Regions from separate parts of the Homo sapiens genome. Here region 1 is linked to region 2. The links are contacts of gene promoters, found by promoter capture Hi-C in human tissues and cell types (Jung and others, 2019). All regions are on one chromosome and are shown on one strand. The core of a region is centred on a gene start or on the middle of the fragment in contact, and the rest is flanking DNA. Distances in the headings are between cores, read along the strand shown.

Region 1 (3,339 bases), core at 530-3,029, 320 kb before region 2:
GTTGCCACTGCAGGCTCCGGCAGCCTGCTTTTATTCTCTTATCTGGCCCCACCCCCATCCTGCTGATTGGTCCATTTTACAGAGAGCCGAGTGGTCTGTTTTGACAGGGCACTGATTGGTGCGTTTACAATCCCTGAGCTAGACACAAAGGTTCTCCAAGTCCCCAATAGATTAGCTAGATACAGAGTGTGGACACAAAGGCTCTCCAAGTCCCCACCAGAGTAGCTAGATACAGAGTGTCAATTGGTGCATTCACAAACCCTGAGCTAGACACAGGGTGCTGATTGGTGTGTTTACAAACCTTGAGCTAGACACAGGGTGCTGATTGGTGTATTTACAATCCCGTAGCTAGACATAAAGTTTCTCCAAGGCCCCACCAGACTAGCTAGATACAGAGTGTTGATTGGTGCATTTACAAACCCTGAGCTAGACACAGGGTGCTGATTGGTGTATATACAATCCCTTTGCTAGACATAAAGGTTCTCCAAGTCCCCACCAGACTAGCTAGATACAGAGTGTGGATTGGTGCATTCACAAACCCTGAGCTAGACACAGGGTGCTGATTGGTGTATTTACAATCCCTTAGCTAGACATAAAGGTTCTCCAAGTCCCCACCAGACTCAGGAGCCCAGCTGGCTTCACCCAGTGGATCCAGCAAGAGGGCTGCAGGTGGAGCTGCCTGCCAGTCCCGCGCCCTGCGCCCACACTCCTCAGCCCTTGGGTGGTCAATGGGACTAGGCGCCGTGGAGCAGAGAGCGGTGCTCGTCTGGGAGGCTGGGGCTGCACAGGAGCCCACGGAGGCGGGGGCAGGCTAAGGCATGACGGGCTGTAGGTCCTGAGCCCTGCCCCGCGGGAAGGCAGCTATGGCCCGGCGAGAAATTGAGCGCAGCGCTGGTGGGCCGGCACTGCTGGGGGACCCACTACACCCTCCGCCGCCGCCAGCCCAGGTGCTAAGCCCCTCACTGCCCGGGGCCGGCGGGGCCCGCTGGCCGCTCCGAGCGCGGGGACCGCCGAGCCCAAGCCTACCCGGAACTCGCGCTGGCCCACAAGCATCACGGGAAGCCCCGGTTCCCGCCCGCGCCTCTCCCTCCACACCTCCCCTCAAGCTGAGGGTGCCGGCTCCGGCCTCGGCCAGCCCAGGAAGGGGCTCCCACAGTGCAGCCGCGGGCTGAAGTGCTCCTCAAGTGCCGCCAAAGTGGGAGCCCAGGCAGAGGATGTGCGGAGAGCGAGCGAGGACTGTGAGGGCTGCCAGCACGCTGTCACCTCTCACCAGCTACTTGGGAGGCTGAGGCAGAAGAATCACTTGAACCTGGGAGACGGAGGTTGCAGTAAGCCGAGATCATGCCGCTGCACTCCAGCCTGGGAGACAGAGTGACACTCCATCTTAAAAAAAAATAAAAATAAAAGACATAACCCATGTTTGTTTAATTATGAAATGCCATGTGGCCAATTGTCTAAAATAGTTAAAACATTGGGGGGGGGTGGGCTACAGAGACTTGGTCACTAAGAATTAGTCTTTGTACGGCTTTAAATACATTGTCACTTTCCCAAACAATATTTATTTGTAATTGTTCAATACTTTTTAATGAATAAGTGTATGACTAGCTTAAATCTACTTGAAATCCTATTTTATATCAAAAGACGTTTTTCTTTTTGAGATAAGGTCTTGCTCCGTTGCCCAGGCTGGAGTGCAGTGGCATGATCATGGCTCACTGCAGTTTTGACCCCCCAGGCTCAAGCGATCCTTCCACCTCAGCCTCTCAAGTAGCTGGGACTACAGGTGTGCACCACCATGCCCAGCTAAGTTTTGTAACTTTTGTAGAGATGAAGTTTCACCACGTTGCCCAGGCTGGTCTCAAACTCCTGGGCTCACCTTGTCCTCTCAAAGTGCTGGTATTACAGGTGTGGCCCATGGTACCTGGCTGAAAAGACTTTTCTTCTTTGGTCAACTCTGACAGCATAGCATGTACTATGCGATACATTAGTCCCTGAGAGAAAGTATTATTGCAATTTTTACATCTTTTCATCTATCATACCAACCTGGCATTTGTGGCATTGTTAGTAAAGGATGAAATTGCTCAGAAGTGAATAAGAGGAAAGAAGAGGAGAAAAAATATATGAGAAAAATCCAAAAATTATACATGCCTCTTCTAAGTAGTCAAGAACTCATTGAATCAGAAAAGACTGTAGTAGACAACATACAGACATATAGGTGTTTTCTCTTAATTGCTATTCATTTTAAATGGACTATTAATTACACAAAGGAATTAGCATGGAAAACATAAAAATTCAACTTTGATGGAGATAAACTATATTAGGATAAAGAAGAATGAATACTTGTGTTTAATCCCTAGGAGATTAGAATTGTACCAATACAGCATTGACAAAGAAATAATTTGTGAATGCATAATGCAGTTGGAAGTCTAACTGCAAAGCTATTGGAGTGATCTTGATTAGAAGGTAAGAGGATTATTGCCGTGTAAACTCAAGCCTCAACAGTTGCACACTGAGATTACTGATTACAGTGAAGATGGGTAGCCACTCGGGGGAGTATTCTGTATTCAGTATTTCTTTCCATGTTCAATTTTATTCCTTCCTTTTACATCTTAGCATCTGAATTCTAAATTCCATCCTAGCAGGGAAACAGAGGAAATGATGCAGATTCTCTCATAAGCCTGATGAATTTAGGAGCTGAAGGAAATGACTTGAGGCTGAAGGAGGTTGGGGGAAAACAAGCAGGCAAGAGACGGGGAGTTATGTCGACACTTCATTGCAGGCCTGTCCCTTTCACTCAGTCATTCACCAATATTTCTGTGTTCAGGTACTGTGCGGGGGCTATAAGAGTAAACAGATAGCTGGGTGCATGGCTCACGCCTGTAAACCCAACACTTTGAGAGCCTGAGGCAGGAGGATCACTTGAGCCCAGGAGTTCAAGACCAGTTTGGGCAACATGGTGAAACCCTGTCTCTGTGAAAAATACAAAAATTAGCTGGGCATGGTGGAGTGTTCCTGTAGTCCCAGCTACTCAGGAGACTGAGGTGGGAGGATCACTTGAGTTCAGAGGGGGAGGCTGCAGTGAGCCAAGATCACACCACTGCACTGCAGCCTGGGTGACAGAGTGAGACCTGTCTCAAAAAAAAAAAAAAAAAAAGTAAACAGACAAAAAGCACTCTGCTCCTCATGGAGTTTCCATTCCATGAGGGTATCAAGCACTAAACAACCACATGAGCCAAAGCATGACAAACGCTAGGAAAGAATGCCATGACTGGGCATTACTGAGAGAATTCTTTTACTTTGGGGGATCGAGGAGAACCTCTGTGAAAAAGAATATTTCTGCTA
Region 2 (3,255 bases), core at 596-3,095:
AAGCATGCAAATGACTGTAAAACATCGACAACAGCCATGCAGAGTAGTAATTTCATGCAAATCATTTTGTATACTACAAATTCTAACTTTCGAAACGACGAAAAGTCATAAACTTTGCTACAGTTTGGTTTATAGTGACAAAGTTCCATTTCAATCTCTTCTTTCCGATGTATTAATAAACATCCTAAAACTGCTTGTCTGTTCTAACCATTAGATCACTGGTTATCATTAGAATGAATTAGTGCTCACATCTATGTTGTAGTTTCAATAGGTTTTTAAAACAATTACTCCATTCCACACAATGTGGAATTATCCTATTCCACAGACCAGTTCCCTCCCCGACAAAAAGTGTTACTTTTACTTTAAAAAGTATATGACCAACATATCTCTGGTTCTGCCAAATTATCAGTTTATGTGCTGACTCAAACTGCCATTTTCATAAGATGAATTTTCAAAGAAGCTAACAAAATAAGCTCTCCAAACATAAAACTGTAACTCACAAGGTATATTCATCTACAACATGGGTAAAACCCGAAACTTCTATTTCGGTGAAGGAAGGATGAAAATAAGAGCTATCCATGCCCTAACGATTAGAAAAATTGTCCGGTTAGAGGGGAAAAAAAAAACCCTACACAAAGTTTCTTAAGCCCAGAGCCTAGCCAAGAACATGTGCATCCCCAGAACGCCAATGTAATAAATGCCTTGGAGAGATCGGGGCACACAAGTTTTTCCCTCAAGCGCCAATGGCTGAAGTACACATATAGAAATAGAAATCGCAGACAGCAGCACTGTGGCAGAAAAAAAGAGAAAAAAGGACTGATCTGGATGTCAAGAGACGTTGGTTTTAAGTCTCTTGGCTCAACAACTCCCGGAGTGACCTTGGGGAAACCTCTCTCTAGGCCTGTTTCGTTATCTTTAAGAGGCGACCTGAAGTCCCTTTACATTAACTCTATTCCAACTTCCAGTGATTCGAAACAGGCTTTAGGACTGCTTCTAATCAATGCCAGGAAAAATGAAAAAACAAAAACAAAACAAAACAACAGGAATCAGGTTAAATGGGTCAGAGGCCCCTAAGTGGATATAAAGCAGCTGGGTAAAGGGTAAGTGGACGCCGACCCAGCAAAGCACTGAGCGCGGCTTGGAGAGCGGGGGTGGCTGCGGGAAGGCCGGGGGTGGGTCCGTAGGGCTCCCGGCCCGGGCAGGAGGTGGAGCCGAGGCTCTCGCGTGCATTGTCCCCGGGAGGGAGCCATGTTTCTTACTCCCCGGCACTCCCAGATGGCGGCCGGGGACGCGGGCCCTAAGCAGACCAAAGCCCCAGGGACCTGGAGAGCCAGAGGACGCAGGCAGCAAGGAGGGAGCTCCAGTCCGGGTAGGGGCTGTCTCCCGGGCTGCGGTCCCCGCGACGCACCCGGAGGCGGCAGGGGGAAGGAAAGGCCCCTGGGGCGACGGTTCCGGGCTACGCGCCTCCCAGACCCCAGTCGATAGAGTGAGAAGGAAACCCATGCCCAACCACCGGCTGGGACAGCGGCGGGCAGGCCGCATCGGTCTCCTCTCCCCGCGCGGGCCGGGCGGCGGAGCAGTGGGAAGCAGGCCCGCGCTCTCGACCTCGGAGGCCTCGGGCCGCCCCAGCCCGGCGCGCCCCGATCAGCTACTCACCGTTGGCGCGTTTGAGGGCATTTTCCGGCCTCTGAAAATAGGCCGGCATCTTGGCGGCAGGCTCAGCTCACCCGGCGTCAGCGAACTCTCTAGTGGCCCGGGCCGGGAGAGGAGACGAAGGGGAACCAGCGTAAGGTCCCACGCGCCTCGCCAGCAGTCGCCCGCGCCCAGCCGGCCAGAGACGGAAAGGAAGGAGCCACGTGACCTCCCCGCGGCGGCCCTGCTGCCGCCCAGGCCCCGGATGTAGGGGGCGGGTCTCCGTGCGCGCAAGCGCGCTGGCGTCACGCACGCCGACAGACGTGGCGGCGCCGGAGTCCTAGGCGCGCAAGGTCCAGTTCCCGTCTTGGGCCTGTCCTGGATAGCGTTAGGGAGACAGTTCACAGGCTCTTCAATCTTCGAGCGAGAATTAGGGTGGGAAGGGTGAGTGTGGGGTCAGAGTTTCTGTCTGGAGAACAAGCAAACGTCTGCAGATTGGTTTTCAAAGCGACTTGTGCGGAGTCGTGCAGTTACAGTAAGGTCCCATCCAGCCTGGGAATCGCCTGTCTTGGCTACGTGAAAATGCTGAGTTTAACGAAAACGCAGTGAGCAGGTGTCATCAGGTCAGCGCCGCTCAACCGTGAGAGACAATCATGGGGAAGAGTGACGCCTAAAATAAACAAGCAAGGTTCTTTTATATCTTGGTAAAGTAAAAAGTTTGTGTCACAGGGATTGCCTTGAGAAATGGAGGCTCTCAGAGGGGGCGAATGGGGACAGCGACCTGGCAAAGGGCGAAACGCCCTGGAGCACAGCAGACTTGCTTGGTGTTTGAAAACACACGGAAAGGAGTGTCGTCACTTTTTACATACAGCGCACGTCACAAACAAATTAAGAAAAATTAGTGTTAGTGAAAAAAATCAATCTGAGAGGCCCTTTTATTGTTGCTTAACAATTTTAATGTTCGCAGACGAAGTACTTTACCTAGAATTTGAAAACCATTTGAACCGAATCTAATTCTCAAGCCCTTGGTACGAAATAAAGGTGAGCTCAGAAGGAAAAAAATTTTTTTTTTTTTTGAAACGGAGTCTCGCTTTGTCGCCCAGGCTGGAGTGCAGTGGCACGATCTCGGCTCACTGCAAGCTCCGCCTTCTGGATTCACGCCATTCTCCTGCCTCAGCCTCCCGAGTAGCTGGGACTACAGGCGCCCGCCACTGCGCCCAGCTAATGTTTTGTATTTTTAGTAGAGACGGGGTTTCGCCGTGGTCTCGATCTCCTGACCTCGTGATCCGCCCTCCTCGGCCTCCCAAAGTGCTGGGATTACAGGCGTGAGCCACCGCGCCCAGCCCAGAAGGAAAATTTAGAAGGCAGCAGTGAAATAGATTATTGTCAATGTATTACACATTTAATAGACGAGATATGTGAATTAATGAATGAGGAAATCGGCCGGGCATGGTGGGTCGCGCCTGTAATCCCAGCACTTTGGGTGGCTGGGGCGGGTGGATCACCTGAGGTCAGGAGTTCGAGACCAGCTTGGCCAACATGGCGAAACCCCGTCTCTACTAAAAATACAAAACTTAGGCCTGGCGTGGTGGCTCACGCCTGTAATCCAGGCGCTTTGGGAGG

What was found. The method cuts DNA at HindIII sites, captures the fragments that hold promoters and counts their contacts. A contact is called where the count stands out against the background at its distance.
Region 1: a contact is called between a fragment that was not itself captured here and the fragment with the promoter of EIF3A in region 2, in 1 of the 25 tissues and cell types used here (dorsolateral prefrontal cortex).

Annotation. Positions count from the first base shown.
Region 1 is chr10:118,759,444-118,762,782 of GRCh38, forward strand. It overlaps LOC107987151 (a long non-coding RNA gene), which reads right to left and starts at 6. Exons shown (of 2, transcript XR_001747604.3): 1 at 1-6. The HindIII fragment of the contact is 5,852 bases long and covers 1-3,339 here.
Region 2 is chr10:119,078,972-119,082,226 of GRCh38, forward strand. EIF3A (eukaryotic translation initiation factor 3 subunit A) reads right to left here and starts at 1,846. Exons shown (of 22, transcript NM_003750.4): 1 at 1,657-1,846. The coding sequence starts at 1,705. RefSeq lists a silencer at 1,311-1,570 and enhancers at 1,576-2,338, 1,766-2,060. The HindIII fragment of the contact is 11,678 bases long and covers 1-3,255 here.